Linked DNA regions of Homo sapiens: region 1 is linked to region 2. The links are contacts of gene promoters, found by promoter capture Hi-C in blood cells and fetal thymus (Javierre and others, 2016). All regions are on one chromosome and are shown on one strand. Each heading gives the region's core, a stretch centred on a gene start or on the middle of the fragment in contact. The rest is flanking DNA. Distances are from core to core; before and after follow the strand shown.

The links. Contacts are between HindIII fragments. The CHiCAGO score rates a contact against its expected background, and 5 or more counts as called.
Region 1: a contact is called between the fragment with the promoter of PPP1R3E here and the fragment with the promoter of PIP4P1 in region 2, in 1 of 17 cell types (erythroblasts). The highest score is 5.2, in erythroblasts.

Annotation. Positions count from the first base shown.
Region 1 is chr14:23,297,539-23,304,739 of GRCh38, reverse strand. It overlaps PPP1R3E (protein phosphatase 1 regulatory subunit 3E), which reads left to right and starts at 1,881. Exons shown (of 5, transcript NM_001276318.2): 1 at 1,881-2,580; 2 at 2,882-3,442; 3 at 3,876-3,982; 4 at 5,199-5,339; 5 at 5,823-7,201. The coding sequence starts at 2,164. The coding sequence ends at 3,304. RefSeq lists silencers at 2,095-2,604, 2,685-2,744, 2,755-3,184 and an enhancer at 3,245-3,434. The HindIII fragment of the contact is 16,311 bases long and covers 1-7,201 here.
Region 2 is chr14:20,455,354-20,462,944 of GRCh38, reverse strand. PIP4P1 (phosphatidylinositol-4,5-bisphosphate 4-phosphatase 1) reads left to right here and starts at 1,511. Exons shown (of 7, transcript NM_144568.4): 1 at 1,511-1,761; 2 at 2,100-2,290; 3 at 2,647-2,753; 4 at 3,212-3,317; 5 at 3,505-3,557; 6 at 3,649-3,739; 7 at 4,243-5,264. The coding sequence starts at 1,620. The coding sequence ends at 4,386. It overlaps APEX1 (apurinic/apyrimidinic endodeoxyribonuclease 1), which reads right to left. Exons shown (of 5, transcript NM_001641.4): 1 at 7,551-7,591; 2 at 7,242-7,367; 3 at 6,844-7,031; 4 at 6,085-6,277; 5 at 5,178-5,954. The coding sequence starts at 7,299. The coding sequence ends at 5,437. RefSeq lists enhancers at 847-926, 259-1,224, 1,227-1,296, 1,225-2,191, 7,456-7,591 and silencers at 1,417-1,826, 1,887-2,056, 5,561-5,855. The HindIII fragment of the contact is 6,669 bases long and covers 945-7,591 here.

The DNA of each region.
Region 1 (7,201 bases), core at 632-3,131, 2.8 Mb before region 2:
TTAATTTATATGCATTATATATATTATATTGTATATGCATATACAATATATACATTGTATATATTGTATCACATATAATGATACGAAGAGAATACATCCATGCATTCTATATACGTGTAAAATTTAAAAAGTCAATATTGCTTTAAAAATGAGTCCTAGCTAACTAGTATTGCTACAGTCAATACTAGTGCGAATGCATGTAAACAGGAATGAATTGTATAATAATAAGATAACATGTGTCTCATGGTTTATTTTCAACTTAGTCACTTGTGGTTTTACAGTTAAACTATCCTGCTGCTTTAAATTTAGAGACTTCATTTCTACTCTAATATTCCCTCTTTTAACACTCTGAGGATGTTAACTATTATTGTTAAATGTTTTAATCTTATATAACCAAGCGGGTAAGAGCGTGGACTCTAGAGCTAAACTGTTTAGGTCCTAATCCCACCTCCCCAATTATTAACTATGTGACCCTGGGTAAGAGTCCTCTCCCCTCTCTCCCTCAATTCTCTCATCTTTAAACTAGACATAATAGTCTCTATTCCTCTGATGGTTGTATTACATGGGTTAGTATTTGTAAAACCCTTACAACAGTACCTAGCACATTGTAAGTGCTATATTAGATCAGTAGGAAAGTTAGAAAAAAACTAAAAACAACTTCACTTTTTTTTTTCACTAATGTTAAAAAAAAAAAATGAAAGGGGAAAAAGCCAGCTCTGCCCTTCTTGGAAGCTCCCACTGGACCTATAATTCCACAGTCCCAACTCCAAGAGAGTTGTTGGGTGCTTGTTCATTCAATAATTTGAGTGCCTACCATATACTAAAACTCACCATGAATCAGACAAAGCCCCTGCCCTCAAAGGGCTTACACTTGGATTAGAAATCAGAACTCCACCACTTTTTTACAGATAAGAACACTGAGTTCAGAGTATGGCTCTGAGTTCAGGGGTGGCTCACACCTGTAATCCCAGCACTTTGGGAGGCCGAGGCGGGCAGATCACCTGAGATCAGGAGTTCAAGACCAGCCTGGCCAAGATGGTGAAACCCCGTGTCTACTAAAAATACAAAAATTAGCCGGGCGTGGTGGTGGACGCCTGTAATCCCAGCTACTCAGGAGGCTGAGGCAGGAAAACCGCTTGAACCGGGGAGGCAGAAGTTGCAGTGAGCCGAGATCACGCCACTGCACTCCAGCCTGGGCGACAGAGCGAGACTCCATCTCACACTCACACACACACACACACACACACACACACGAGAACACTGACTCCAGAGAAGTTATGCCTTGCTTGCTCAAGGTCACTAGAAGCTAGGTCTTCCTGCAGTTCTCAGTTCGGGTGCCATATTCTCACCTTCTATTTGAAAGACTCTACCTAGCTTTCATGACCTTTCCTTCTTTGCACGCACCACCACCCCCTGCCCAAACCAGGAGCCTAGGTTTCAGAAAAGAAAACAGTGAACCCCAAAGATAAAGTCACATGCTGGGCGTTTTGAACCTTCCCCTGCAAGAAAATGAAAGGTTATTTTTTCTTCCCGGCGTTAACCTTTCCTGTGCTGTGCCGGAAAAGTTGAGGACTTTTTACATTTTATTATTATTATTATTGTAGAGATCAGGGGTCTCACTATGACGCCCAGGCTGGTCTTGAACTCCAGGCTTCAAGCGATCCTCCCACCTCGGCCTCCCAAAGTGCTGGGATTTGAGGCGTGAGCCATCGCGTCCCGTCCGTGGATGTTTTTTTTAAAAGGTTGAGTAGCTTCACTCGGGACCGCAAAGGTGGAGTCCCCGCCCCCTGGTGCAGCAGCGAAGACAAGCGGAGCCACCTGTCAGAGGGCTGTGGGCGGGGGCGCCCGGGCCGTGAGGGCCTTGGAACCGGAGGGTGAGTGCAGTTGAGCGCACGCTCAGAGCAGACCGCTAGCAGGAGGCAGGATGTGATAGTCTAAGACCCTGGAAGCTGACGGCCAGAGGGAGGGAAGGGTGGTCACAGAGGAGAGGCAAAGCAACGGGAGGTGGAGGATCCTGGAGGTGTCTGCAAGGAGAATACACAGCAGCGAGGGGCTGCAGAAGCGGACCCAGCGACTTCTGCGCTGACGCGGGGCGGGCGGGAGAGAGGAAGAGAGGGGAGCGCGGTGGCGCTGCGAGCTGGCCCCGCCGGGGAAGGGGCTGCCATGTCCCGTGAGCGGCCCCCGGGCACCGACATTCCCCGCAACCTGAGCTTCATCGCCGCGCTAACGGAGCGCGCCTACTACCGTAGCCAGCGGCCCAGCCTCGAGGAGGAGCCGGAGGAGGAGCCAGGCGAGGGCGGGACGCGGTTCGGGGCCCGATCCCGCGCTCACGCACCGAGTCGGGGCCGCCGGGCCCGATCTGCACCAGCCGGAGGCGGCGGGGCCCGGGCGCCCCGCAGCCGTAGCCCAGACACCCGCAAGAGAGTGCGTTTCGCCGACGCACTGGGGTTGGAGCTGGCTGTCGTGCGCCGCTTCCGTCCCGGTGAGCTGCCCCGGGTGCCCCGCCACGTGCAGATCCAATTGCAGAGGGACGCCCTCCGCCACTTCGCGCCCTGCCAGCCCCGCGCCCGCGGCCTCCAGGTAGGCGGCGGGGGCACCTCCCCTCCTGGGGACCTCCTCCAGTCGGCCGCAGCGGGCTTGTGGGAGTGGATTTGCCAAAGAGCACCCATCTCCATCCCATCCCTGGGCTTGCGCCTGCCCATCCCTTTTGGGGACCCCATCTGCGAGTGGCTCTAGGCCACCCTGGCAGCTGGGCCGCACTCTGCCGGCCTGGACGCCGGGGTCGGCCTCTGATTGGTCCAGTGCCTTGCTCTGACACCGCCCCCTGTCTCTCCCCTCTCTCCGCCCTGGGCTCCCTCCTCCCGCTTCTTCTTTCCCCCAGGAGGCGCGCGCCGCCCTGGAGCCGGCCAGCGAGCCCGGCTTCGCCGCCCGCTTGCTGACGCAGCGCATCTGCCTGGAACGCGCCGAGGCGGGCCCGCTGGGCGTGGCCGGGAGCGCGCGCGTGGTGGACCTGGCCTACGAGAAGCGCGTGAGCGTGCGCTGGAGCGCCGACGGCTGGCGGAGCCAACGCGAGGCGCCAGCCGCCTACGCCGGTCCGGCCCCGCCCCCGCCGCGCGCCGACCGCTTCGCCTTCCGCCTGCCCGCGCCGCCGATTGGGGGCGCCCTGCTCTTCGCCTTGCGCTACCGTGTGACAGGTCACGAGTTCTGGGACAACAACGGCGGCCGTGACTATGCTCTACGTGGGCCCGAGCACCCGGGCAGTGGCGGAGCTCCGGAGCCGCAGGGCTGGATCCACTTTATCTGAGACGAGGCGCCTGCGGCCGACGGCGGAAAACACCAAAGGCACCCGGGGGCGGGGCGACCCGATGTGGCGGGGAGGAGTAGGAGAGACCAGGATTGGCGGGAGCGGTCCAAGGGAGTCAAGCCGGGGAGGGCGAAAAGGGTGGGGAAATCAGGGGCGTGGGGGCGTGGGGGCGTGGGGGCGGGGGGAGTGAGCGGAACCAAAGAAGCTCCGGGAGATCCGGGTGTTAAAAGCTGGTTGGATGTGAGTGGAAGGAACTCAGAATATAGGAGGAAGGAGACCCGAAACGGCACCGGAGGGATTATAAAAAAAGGAAAAGAATGGGGATGATGGTGGCCTTCCCTTCAGTGAGTGGGCTCTGGGAGAAAGGGAGGAGGTCCATCAGGCCTAGGCGGTTGAAGAAGGTTAAGAACCTTTTGGAGATGGAGGAGGTATGATGTGAAGTAGCCCACCCAGTCGAAGGCATTTACATTGCTGGCGCATTCCCTCTTCTTACCGGCCTTTTCCACCTCAGATCCCCCTGTCCTACCCATCCTAGCTTTAACTCAGCCATAATTGCCTTGCTTAATCCCAGGAACCTGGCCACTGCTCCTTGGTCCTTGGCATTATGACGGGATTCCCTTGTCACCTCTGACAGTTCCTGGCTGCGGTGTCCGCGGACTGGCTGGGGAGTGATGACAGGTAGCTATCAGAGCTCCAGCCTCCAGGCAGCTTTAGGGATTAAAACGGAGGCCAAAGCAACTCCAGACCTGTTTTTATAGCCAAATACTGAGCCTCAGGGGTTGTACACTCAGGGGCTTCCAGGAAAATGCCAGCCTTACTTTTCTGGGGTGCCTTTTAATAACCTCCAAGCACTTTGTGGACTGTTTGTCGAGGGACGGTGAATCAGAAGAATCACTATTCTGATTTCCTTTGTCTCCGAAGAGGAAGTCCCTGACTAGCTATATAACTTTGGGCGAGTTACCTCTCACTTCTTTGTGCCCCAGTGTTCTCCTTGGGAAACTGGATTTAGGTTAGATGACCTTTTAAGGCTCCTTGTATGATATTTTGTGATCTGTACATGGCAGAGTATAGATTAGGAGCCAAATTTTCCAACCTAGTGCTATGGTTCAGAATACATAGCACCCCAAGCGTCTGGCTGGAGCCGAGGATGGGTCCTCCAGTTTTTGGCACAGATGTTCCGGAGCCCAGGAAGCATCCCATAACCAACCTTCAGCCCCACCGCCACCCCCAGCGTATTCCAGAGCCGCTTCCAAACCACAGCCTATCCTCTGCTCCATTTCACTCTTGTCCTCACAGACTTTCAGCCTCCATGCTCTGAGACAACTGTGGGTAGGTACATCTCTGTTGGTGGAAATGATGCTTAAGAACCCCAAAGATTAAAGGAAACAATGTTAAGGGCTTTTGTGAGGATAAAAGATAATGGGTATATGGAATAGAAACATTTCAAATGAAGAATCAAAGCATTTCAATCAATCCACTTGGTTGTAAAAAAAAAAAAAAAAAAAAAACAAAAACAAAAAAACACCAAAGCAACTTGAATAGTAAATGGCACCAGAAGATGGCAGTCTGCTCCATAACCAGAGCAAGTGCAGTGGGAAAGCTGGACTCTCATACCCACTCACATTCATGCCTTATATAAGCCTCTCCTCCTGGTTAACCTTAACAGGGGAGTGATTCCTCTGCTGGTTGCTGTTTTTCCTTTTCTCTTACCCTATTCCTAACCTCTTTGCTTCTCTCTTTCTTTCCTTGTGTCTCTTCCTTCTCTTTTCTTTTTTCTTTTAACATATAGGGTATTTTTTTCTTTTAACATATAGGGTATTTACCTTCATTTTGTTTATTTCCATTTGTTTCCTTCTTCATTCATGTTCATCTCTGCTATTCCTTCTCCCTCCAGAAGGGATGGAAACCCTATTTTCTTTTCTCCAAGACCATGGTTGGTCTGCTTCCCTCACTCGGGCTCCTTGACAGTCTTCTAGAAGAGAGAAGGAGGAAAAGAAGCAGTTCCTGATGTTACAAATGAACAAGGATCTCCCAGGTAACCAGCTCCCCACACCCATTTCTGTTACTAATTTCTCAAACAGAAATTTCTGGTTCCCCTTCTTCCTTATCACTGAGTGAAAGGGGACAGGCATGCACATGTGCCCATACATGCATTCAGAATAGAGTGTGGGGGCAGGGGCGGTAGTTCATTCCTGTAATCCCAGCACTTTGGGAGGCTGAGTTAGGTGGATCATTTGAGGTCAGGAGTTCAAGACTAGCCTGGCCAACATACTGAAACCCTGTCTCTACTAAAAATACAAAAATTAGCCGGGCATGGTGATTCATGCCTGTAGTCCCAGCTACTCATGAGGCTGAGGCAGGAGAATCACTTTAACGGGGAGACAGAGGTTGCAGTGAGCTGAGATTGCACCACTGCACTCCAGCCTGGGTGACAGAGTGAGACTCCGTCTCAAAAAATAAAAAAAAAGAATAGAGTATGAGGCTTGTTGGCTTGTTACCATGCCCATCCTGTCCACAGCCTTAGTCTTTGAGAAAAGATGGCTGAAAGAGAGGAACTCTCCAAGTCATTCCGCAAACAAATGCCCATTTAAACATCATCCTTGTCTTGTGAAGAAAACAGGAAGAATGTCATGTACCATGTGGATCACCTTCAGTTCAAAGTTGCAGCAAAGTGAAGAAAGAAACTACTGGAAGCCACCCAGCAATGCACTGTTTAGTCATCAATTAGGAGCCCATGGGAGGATAATAGGGAGACTGGGTGGAGGCTCAGTGTGTAATAATCTCTTGTCTAATGTATGTGTGTCACTGCCATGTTGTATGAACAATAGTGAGGGCTCACATTTACTTAACACTTGTGTGCGCAAATCTGGGTTTTTCTTCCTTTCCAGAACTATGACTCGATCATAAAATCTGTTTTGTTTGCATGCATGCCCAAAACAACCCTGTAAGTAGAACATTGTCATTATCTCTGTTTTAGAGATGAGGAAACAGGCTCAGAGAAGCTCAGAAATTTGTTCAAGATCGCACAGCTAGTAAATGGCAGAAGTAGGATTGTGAACCCAGGGAATCTCCAGAGCCTCTGTGTAACCATGATGTTATATTTTTTTTCCTCTTTAAAAACAAAATTTAAAACCTTGCTATAATCTCTTATTAGGAAATGATCATAGTTTCTGACTGTGCTCTGCCTTCCCATCCTGCCAATCTCCTGGACTGGCTTGGAGAAGACAGGGGGCCCCCGAGCTTCATCTGTGACTCGAAGGAGTTTGCTGCTGTCTCCTGTGTCAGTGTCCCATCTATGCAGGATCAGCACAGGACCCCCCTCACCTTCCCACTTACACTCTAGCCTTTCCATACATTGGAATTCTCTCCTGGCCCTAGCCAGCGCTCCACACCTGTTGGTGTGCCACCTCCCTCCCTCTTCCCCCACTGGCCTTGAACAGGCAAACCCCCTAATGTCGCCACTAGGTTGGGTCCGTGACTAGGACACCTGCTAGAGGGTCTGTGCTTGGGCCTTTTCTAGGAATCCCGATGTTACTGGGTAAGTGCCAACTCTGTGGGCAGAATGCTAATGATAATCCTGTTCCCTGACCTCTTTCTCAGAAGTACCCTGGCTCACTCTCCCCAATCTCAGCTTTATAGAACAACATTTTGGTCTTGATTATTCCCATATCAAGCTGCCCCAGGGCTTCGGTAAGCTGTTAGTTGCCCCACTGCCTCAAGGCTGGGTCTGGCTGAGCTACTTCTTAGGCACACAAATAGTGGGTGTCTCCTTGGAACCTGACACAAAACTATCAGTGCTACCAAGCCTTGTAAAATAGGGAGGAAACTAATATTTCTTGAGTGGCTTCTGAGTGCCTGGTGCTTTCGCGGCTCTCTGGAGAGATTCCTTGCCCTGAT
Region 2 (7,591 bases), core at 262-2,761:
GGGCTCTTATCTAACTGGTCGAAGGTTACTAGCTTCCAAGTAGAAGTTGGCCTGAGAAAACCCTGTCTAAAAAAATCAGGACCTAGGTGAAGTCTCCAGCCCCTGTAGCAGCCAAGTGCTGGGACATCTGCAGTTCCTTTGTTATTACATATTTGGGGCTGGCTGTACTTTCTTTGATGCACTTCCTTTCTTAGTGGAGAGTCTGCTAGCCAAACTGATAATGGACCTCCTCGGGGTTTATTGTTTTTATCAATTCCTTGTTGCTTCCCATATTTAAAGCAGTCCCAGTTTGGGCTATGACTTGGGAAAAAATCCAGGTGTGGTTCAGGCGCCCATAAAGACCACACGAGACTTCAGGTAGGGGAGGAGGCACTGCCCCTTTGCTGGAAGCAAAGTTGAGACAGGCCTAAAGACTGTCCCATCTGTCAAATAAGGTGACGAAAATAACCTTGTATTTGATTAATCCAATCTACAAACTTGTGCGTATGTTAAAGGTTGGTGGTCATAAAACTGAGTAAAGGCACGGTGGCTTGTCCCTGTAGTCCCAGCTACTGGGAAGGCTTAGGCAGGAGATCAAACTCAGGAGTTTGAGTCCAGCATAGGCAAGACCCCATCTCTATTGAATTTTTTTTTTTTTTTTTTTAGTAAAACGATGAAATCTTCTAGTAGTGGAGACACTAATGAAAAGATAATTTAACAATTTGATCAGCAATGGGGAAAGACGGGGCTCTGTAAGGACAGCTTCCAGGAAAACCCAGTCTTGTGTCCTGTCCTGAAAGTGACTCTAGCGACAAAGGCTGGAGTGATAATCTTAACTTTTTAATCCATTTCCTTCTGGTACCTCATTACTCTGACTTTTTAAAGGTACTTCTTTGAGTAGAACAGCTAACTTTGTCTACTGTTCCCCACCGTCCATTTTCTCCCCGCTCAGAAGATCCCAAGCTTCCGCACTCCTTTATTGCACCCGCCCAGCCTCCTTTAAAATGCATAAGCCACGCCCCCCATGTTCTGGCGCTAAGTTCGGGCCAATGCAGTTGCGCCGCTAGGATCACAGGACGAAAGAAGTAAAGTCACCAGCCAATAGGAAACCAGCTACAACGCAAAGCCGGAGAAAAGTGTTTTAGTGGTGTCTTTGAACCAATGAGGAGCAGAGCAACAGGGACCGTGCAGCTTCCAGAAACACGTGACCAGTTGAGCAGACGCAGCCTAGCCCTACCTCCTGGTCTGGAGGTAGCGCGATGGGCGTCGCTCCCAATAGCTTGCAGAACCTCTAGTCACGTGCAGGTTTTGCAAGCCCAGCAGCATCTGGCAGGTCATGTGACAGTTGACGTTTGTGCGTCGCTCCCCAATGGAAAAGGAGAGCTGCCTTCACAGGACCAGGAATTGGTTTATCTACGCGAATAATAGCATGACCCGGGCGGGGATAGCCTATCACGTGCTGCTAGACGGAACGGGGCGGGGCAGGCCACTGGTTGCGGAGTGAGCTGGGCGCGCGGCGCGCAGGCGCCCTGGGGACCCGGTAGCGGCGGTGGCGGTGGCGGCGGTGGCGGTGGCTGCGGCGACGGCAGAGGCGAAGGGAGCCGGATCGCCGACCTGAGCGGGAGGCGGCGGTGGCGGCCATGGCGGCAGATGGAGAGCGTTCCCCGCTGCTGTCTGAGCCCATCGACGGTGGCGCGGGCGGCAACGGTTTAGTGGGGCCCGGCGGGAGTGGGGCTGGGCCCGGGGGAGGCCTGACCCCCTCCGCACCACCGTACGGAGCCGGTAAACATGCCCCGCCCCAGGGTAAGCCGGGGCGGGTCCGAGGTGCTCCCCGGGGTACTCTGAAAGCCGGGGAGGGGGCGGGACCGAGGGCGGAGGCGGGTCCCAGTCGCCAGGTGCGGGACTGCTGCACCTGTGACTGGGCGAGGCTTCCTTCCCTCCGTAATCGCGACCACAGCCTAGGGACGGAAGGGGGTTCTGAGCAACCTGATAGAAGTGCCAATTATGAGAAGCCCTCCGAGCTTGGTCAGAGGGTTGAAGATCAGAAGGACTTCCCTACCACCGTGGAGCATCAGTGGGGGTGTAAGTGATCCCAGCCCTTCTATTTGCTTCCTCTCCAGCATTTCCCCCGTTTCCCGAGGGGCATCCAGCCGTGTTGCCTGGGGAGGACCCACCCCCCTATTCACCCTTAACTAGCCCGGACAGTGGGAGTGCCCCTATGATCACCTGCCGAGTCTGCCAATCTCTCATCAACGTGGAAGGCAAGATGCATCAGCATGTAGTCAAATGTGGTGTCTGCAATGAAGCCACCGTGAGTTACACATATCTATGAAATGGGCCCTGTTTCCTGGATCCTCTTTCTGATGTCTTGGTTCTAGACCCTGACCTTCCGGCTATTAGCCAAGTGCTTTTGATGATACCCAGGTTTCAGTTCCAGGTGTCTCACACAGCCATTTCCCCAGAAGCCACTCACCAAAGCTAATGTTCACTTTCTCTCACTTTTACACCTAGCCTAGTTCCTATTTGCAAATCTCATGATATAGTCTTTCTTTTATTTCTCCTTCCTGGTTAGCACCTTATTTTTCTGATCTCATAAAGTGTTTTTGGAGGGAAGTGGAGGGGATTGGGATTAGAGGTTTGCTTGCTGATGACCCTATTATTCTCTAGCCAATCAAGAATGCACCCCCAGGGAAAAAATATGTTCGATGCCCCTGTAACTGTCTCCTTATCTGCAAAGTGACATCCCAACGGATTGCATGCCCTCGGCCCTACTGGTAAGAGGCATAAGGTGGGGAAGGGCCTAAGTGGGGAACTGGAAAGTCAAAAAAGGATGAGCGTATACAGAGAATGTAAAGGTGAGAGAGCCTAGTGTTTATTTAGGAGAAAAGGCTTTGAAGCATGTGCCTCAGGAATGTTATAGCTGTCTTTCTCGTTTCTCAATAAAAATATTGAGATGAAATGATGTCGTTTCGGAGAATAGAGAGCCTTGGGGACTGGGTGTGTTATCCTGAGGTCGGAGGGGAATTGGGGACCTGAAGTTTAAACAGTGCTCTTTCTTTCTCAAGGATTCTTGAGGGTATACAGTTGGGGGACAGAGTATCTTAAGTACAGAGAAGTCGAGTGACTTAATAGACAGGGAGTGGGGGATGTGGAACAGGGACTGTGAAGATTTTTAGGATTAAAAATTTTTCAAACACAAGTTTGAAAATACAAGTCTTTTTCTTTTGTATAGCAAAAGAATCATCAACCTGGGGCCTGTGCATCCCGGACCTCTGAGTCCAGAACCCCAACCCATGGGTGTCAGGGTTATCTGTGGACATTGCAAGAATACTTTTCTGGTGAGGAAGGGGTATTGGGAAGGGGAGGGGAAAGGAGACTAAGAGTCATTTCGAGTATATTTCTTAGAGTAATGGTAATGACCCCTGAAAGGTCTGTCCTATGGGAACATGTTCTGCATCCCCACCCCAAGGTTCTCATTGAGGGAGACCCTGCTTGTGCTATTATTTTTGTTTTCTTTCTCCATAGTGGACAGAGTTCACAGACCGCACTTTGGCACGTTGTCCTCACTGCAGGAAAGTGTAAGTGATTAGGGATTGAGCTGGTAATTGATGTATGGAGTAAAAACTACAAGGCCATAGAAAGCATCCATTTCTATTTGCCTCCCCACAGGTCATCTATTGGGCGCAGATACCCACGTAAGAGATGTATCTGCTGCTTCTTGCTTGGCTTGCTTTTGGCAGTCACTGCCACTGGCCTTGCCGTGAGTACCCTTGCCCCAACCTCTTTCATTCTGCAGCCTCATCTCCATAGGCTAAGATTTGGGAAACTGCTACCCTAAAAAAAAGTGGAAGAAACTTGGGGGACTAGTTTGTTTTGTTTTAAGATATGGATGAGCTAAAGTGCAAAGTGGCTGATCAAACAGACTTTATTACTACTACAAGAGTGAAAAACAGCCTTCCTTTCTCTGTAGGATGAGGATAGGACAGTGAAATTCTTAATTTAAGAGTTGCTATTTTTCAAACCTGGCTCAGTTGTCAGATATTAAGAAAAACTGAGATACAGTGTGGGATGGGATGAGTATGTTACGCCTAAGGGAAGGAAGCTGATCAGCTCTGCCTTTAAGAAGGTCCCTGAGGGTGGCTACATGTGGATAAGGAACAAGGACTGAAGCGTGAGTTATTACTGTTCTTAGAACTAATAGGAGGTAGTGGAGACCAACATTAACCCCATCTTTCTTTTCTTCTCCCTCCTTATCTTCATCAGTTTGGCACATGGAAGCATGCACGGCGATATGGAGGCATCTATGCAGCCTGGGCATTTGTCATCCTGTTGGCTGTGCTGTGTTTGGGCCGGGCTCTTTATTGGGCCTGTATGAAGGTCAGCCACCCTGTCCAGAACTTCTCCTGAGCCTGATGACCCACAGACTGTGCCTGGCCCCTCCCTGGTGGGGACAGTGACACTACGAAGGGAGCTGGGGTAGTTAAAGGCTCCCGGGGCTTCTAGAAGGAAGCCAAGCAGCTGCCTTCCTTTTCCCTGGGGAGAGGTAGGAAGGAACCAGGCCCTCACTTAGGTTTGGAGGGGCAGATAAGAGCACTGCTGACCATCTGCTTTCCTCCAAGGGTTGCTGTGTCTAGGGTGAAGTAGGCAAAACGTTGCCCTTAAAACTGGGCCCTGAAGACGGTTCCAGCCTTGTCCTTCCTGTGTGCTCCCTGAGAGCCATTCCTGTCCCTTACACATTCCAGGGCAGGGTGGGGGTGGGTAGCCCTGGGGGTTCCCCTCCCTCTTGTGCACCATTAGGACTTTGCTGCTGCTATTGCACTTCACCAGAGGTTGGCTCTGGCCTCAGTACCCTCAGTCTCCTCTCCCCACATTGTGTCCTGTGGGGGTGGGGTCAGCCGCTGCTCTGTACAGAACCACAGGAACTGATGTGTATATAACTATTTAATGTGGGATATGTTCCCCTATTCCTGTATTTCCCTTAATTCCTCCTCCCGACCTTTTTTACCCCCCCAGTTGCAGTATTTAACTGGGCTGGGTAGGGTTGCTCAGTCTTTGGGGGAGGTTAGGGACTTATCCTGTGCTTGTAAATAAATAAGGTCATGACTCTACGCTTTTTCAGTTGTTAACTTGTGTGCATGAAAATATGAGGAAGAGAATGTGTAGCCCCACGAAGGGGTAAGACACGAAGACAGCAAGGCTGAAACTATGGCTCTTTATTTTCATGTGGATAATTCAAACAAAGTCATTAGTAGTCTTTGTTCAATTTTTTTTTAAAAAACAAAAAACCCTCAAATAAAAAATCTTGGGCTTAAAAGAACTCTATCACAGGAGCCTGGTTGGAGGATTCCTAGTTTTATACATGAGAAATAGAATGCAGATTTCTCTGAAGAGTGTTTAAAGAAGGAATGGTAGTTGAGGGGGCTTATTTCCCAGGCTCAAAGTGATTTAGGGGTGGTGTCACAGTGCTAGGTATAGGGTGATAGGACAGTGATCACTGCCGAGGGCCTTGGAACGGATCTTGCTGTCACACAATGCAGGTAACAGAGAGTGGGACAACAAAAAGTAATCAAGGCGCCAACCAACATTCTTGGATCGAGCATTCATCATATAAGTCCAAAAGGTGTAGGCATAGGGTGTGTTGGGGTAGAGGTGCCTAAAGCTGTCAGCCAGTGGCACAGCCTGCAGTAATTCCCCGAAGCCTTGGCGCTCTTGTGGCGTGAAGCCAGCATTCTTTTTGTTCCCCTTGGGGTTGCGAAGGTCAATTTCTTCATGTGCCACATTGAGGTCTCCACACAGCACAAGGGGCTTTCGGGAAGCCAGGCCCTTCAGGAACTTGCGAAAGGCTTCATCCCAGCGCTGCCGGTACTCCAGTCGTACCAGACCTCGGCCTGCATTAGGTACATATGCTGTTACCAGCACAAACGAGTCAAATTCAGCCACAATCACCCGGCCTTCCTGATCATGCTCCTCATCGCCTATAGAAATGAAACAGAATTAGCATAAAAAACTATAAGAAAAGGGAAAGCAATCAAGAGGTGGGGCAGAGATAGAGAATTAGCAATTGGTTTTGAAGAGTTCAGGCATTAGGCATCAATAGGGTCTCACCTATGCCGTAAGAAACTTTGAGTGGGCACTGGCGGGAAAGCAGGCCCACGCCACTGTACCCTTCCTTGTCCGAAGGAGCTGACCAGTATTGATGAGAGAGTCCAGGCAGCTCCTGAAGTTCAGCTGGTAGTTTGTTCTCTGAACATTTGGTCTCTTGAAGGCACAGTATATCTGGGGCTTCTTCCTTTACCCACTGTAAGTGAAAAGAAAGGTGGAAAACGTATTATCAATTCAGCAGAACATTTATTGAATAATCTATATGCTAAGTCATAGATACGCACGGGTTAAACAGTCTCTTGGCCTAAGGAGTTCGAGTCAAGCAGCACAATATTCAAACAATTCTAAGCTAGATAAATGAAAACAAATATAGAGAGGTAAGAAAGTCTTACATGCTATGCCAAGGAGATGTGTTTTTTCTATAGGCAGTGGATAGCAAGCTAAGATTTTTAAGCTATGGTTAATGGAATGGAGGACATGCTTCATATGGAATGCAATGCAGGAAGATAAAATGGAGGAAGTATAGTGAAGAGGTTTTTGCAACATTCTGGGAAGAGGAGAGAACACTAAAAAAGAAAATGGCAATGGAAGTGAAGGAACAGACATTTAGGAAATACAACTGGCAAGACTGGGGAAGCCCCACAGAAAACTACGGGCAGGAGAAAAATAAAACAGCCTGAAGGCTAAACGGAGAAAAGGGGTGACTAAACCCTAAGACCATTCAATACTAAAAAATGTCTCTTTCCCTCAAATTCCACTCACATCTAATCCTTTCTTCTTAATCCAGGCTCGAAGCCCATCCACATTCCAAGAGCAGATCTTGAGTGTGGCAGGTTTGCCACTGGGTGAGGTTTTCTGATCTGGGGGGTCCTCATACAGGGCTGGGCCCTCTCCTGCTGCCTCTTTGTCATTTTTCTTTGCGGCCGTCTTACTCTTCTTGGCCTCTGGCTCTATAAAATGAGTAATATATACTGACAAAAAGCTGGTGGTTTCCAACTGCGATCCGGCGTTAACTATAGACCCAACGAAAGCCTACGGTTCCTGCGACTTCTTCACAAACCCCTGCAAAAATGAGTCGGCCCGTACTTACCGTACATCAAGGGAATGACAAACACCCCCGCCGCAGCTTCTAGGAAGAAGGGCTGATTTCATTCCCTTACCTGTCCTGAGCTCATCCCCGTCTTCCGCCACCGCTCCCTTTTTCCCACGCTTCGGCATTCCCGTTACGAACGCCCTTGGGCAGCTGTACCGCGTCACCCACCGAAGCAATATTTTTACCGCGTTGCCTACAGACGCAAAGAAATCATGAAACCAGCTAAGGCTGGGGAGAAGACTCCTCCCAAGAGCGTCCCCGCACCAGGTCCCGCCTTTCAAACCACGTTATCTCTAAATCCTTTCCCCGCCTCCGTGCATCATAGGCCCTTCAGCCCCTCACCCACGAAACTAGATCATTTCATAGTGCCTTGTACCCTACTCGCGAGATCTGCCCTCCAGCCAATTGAGGATCTTA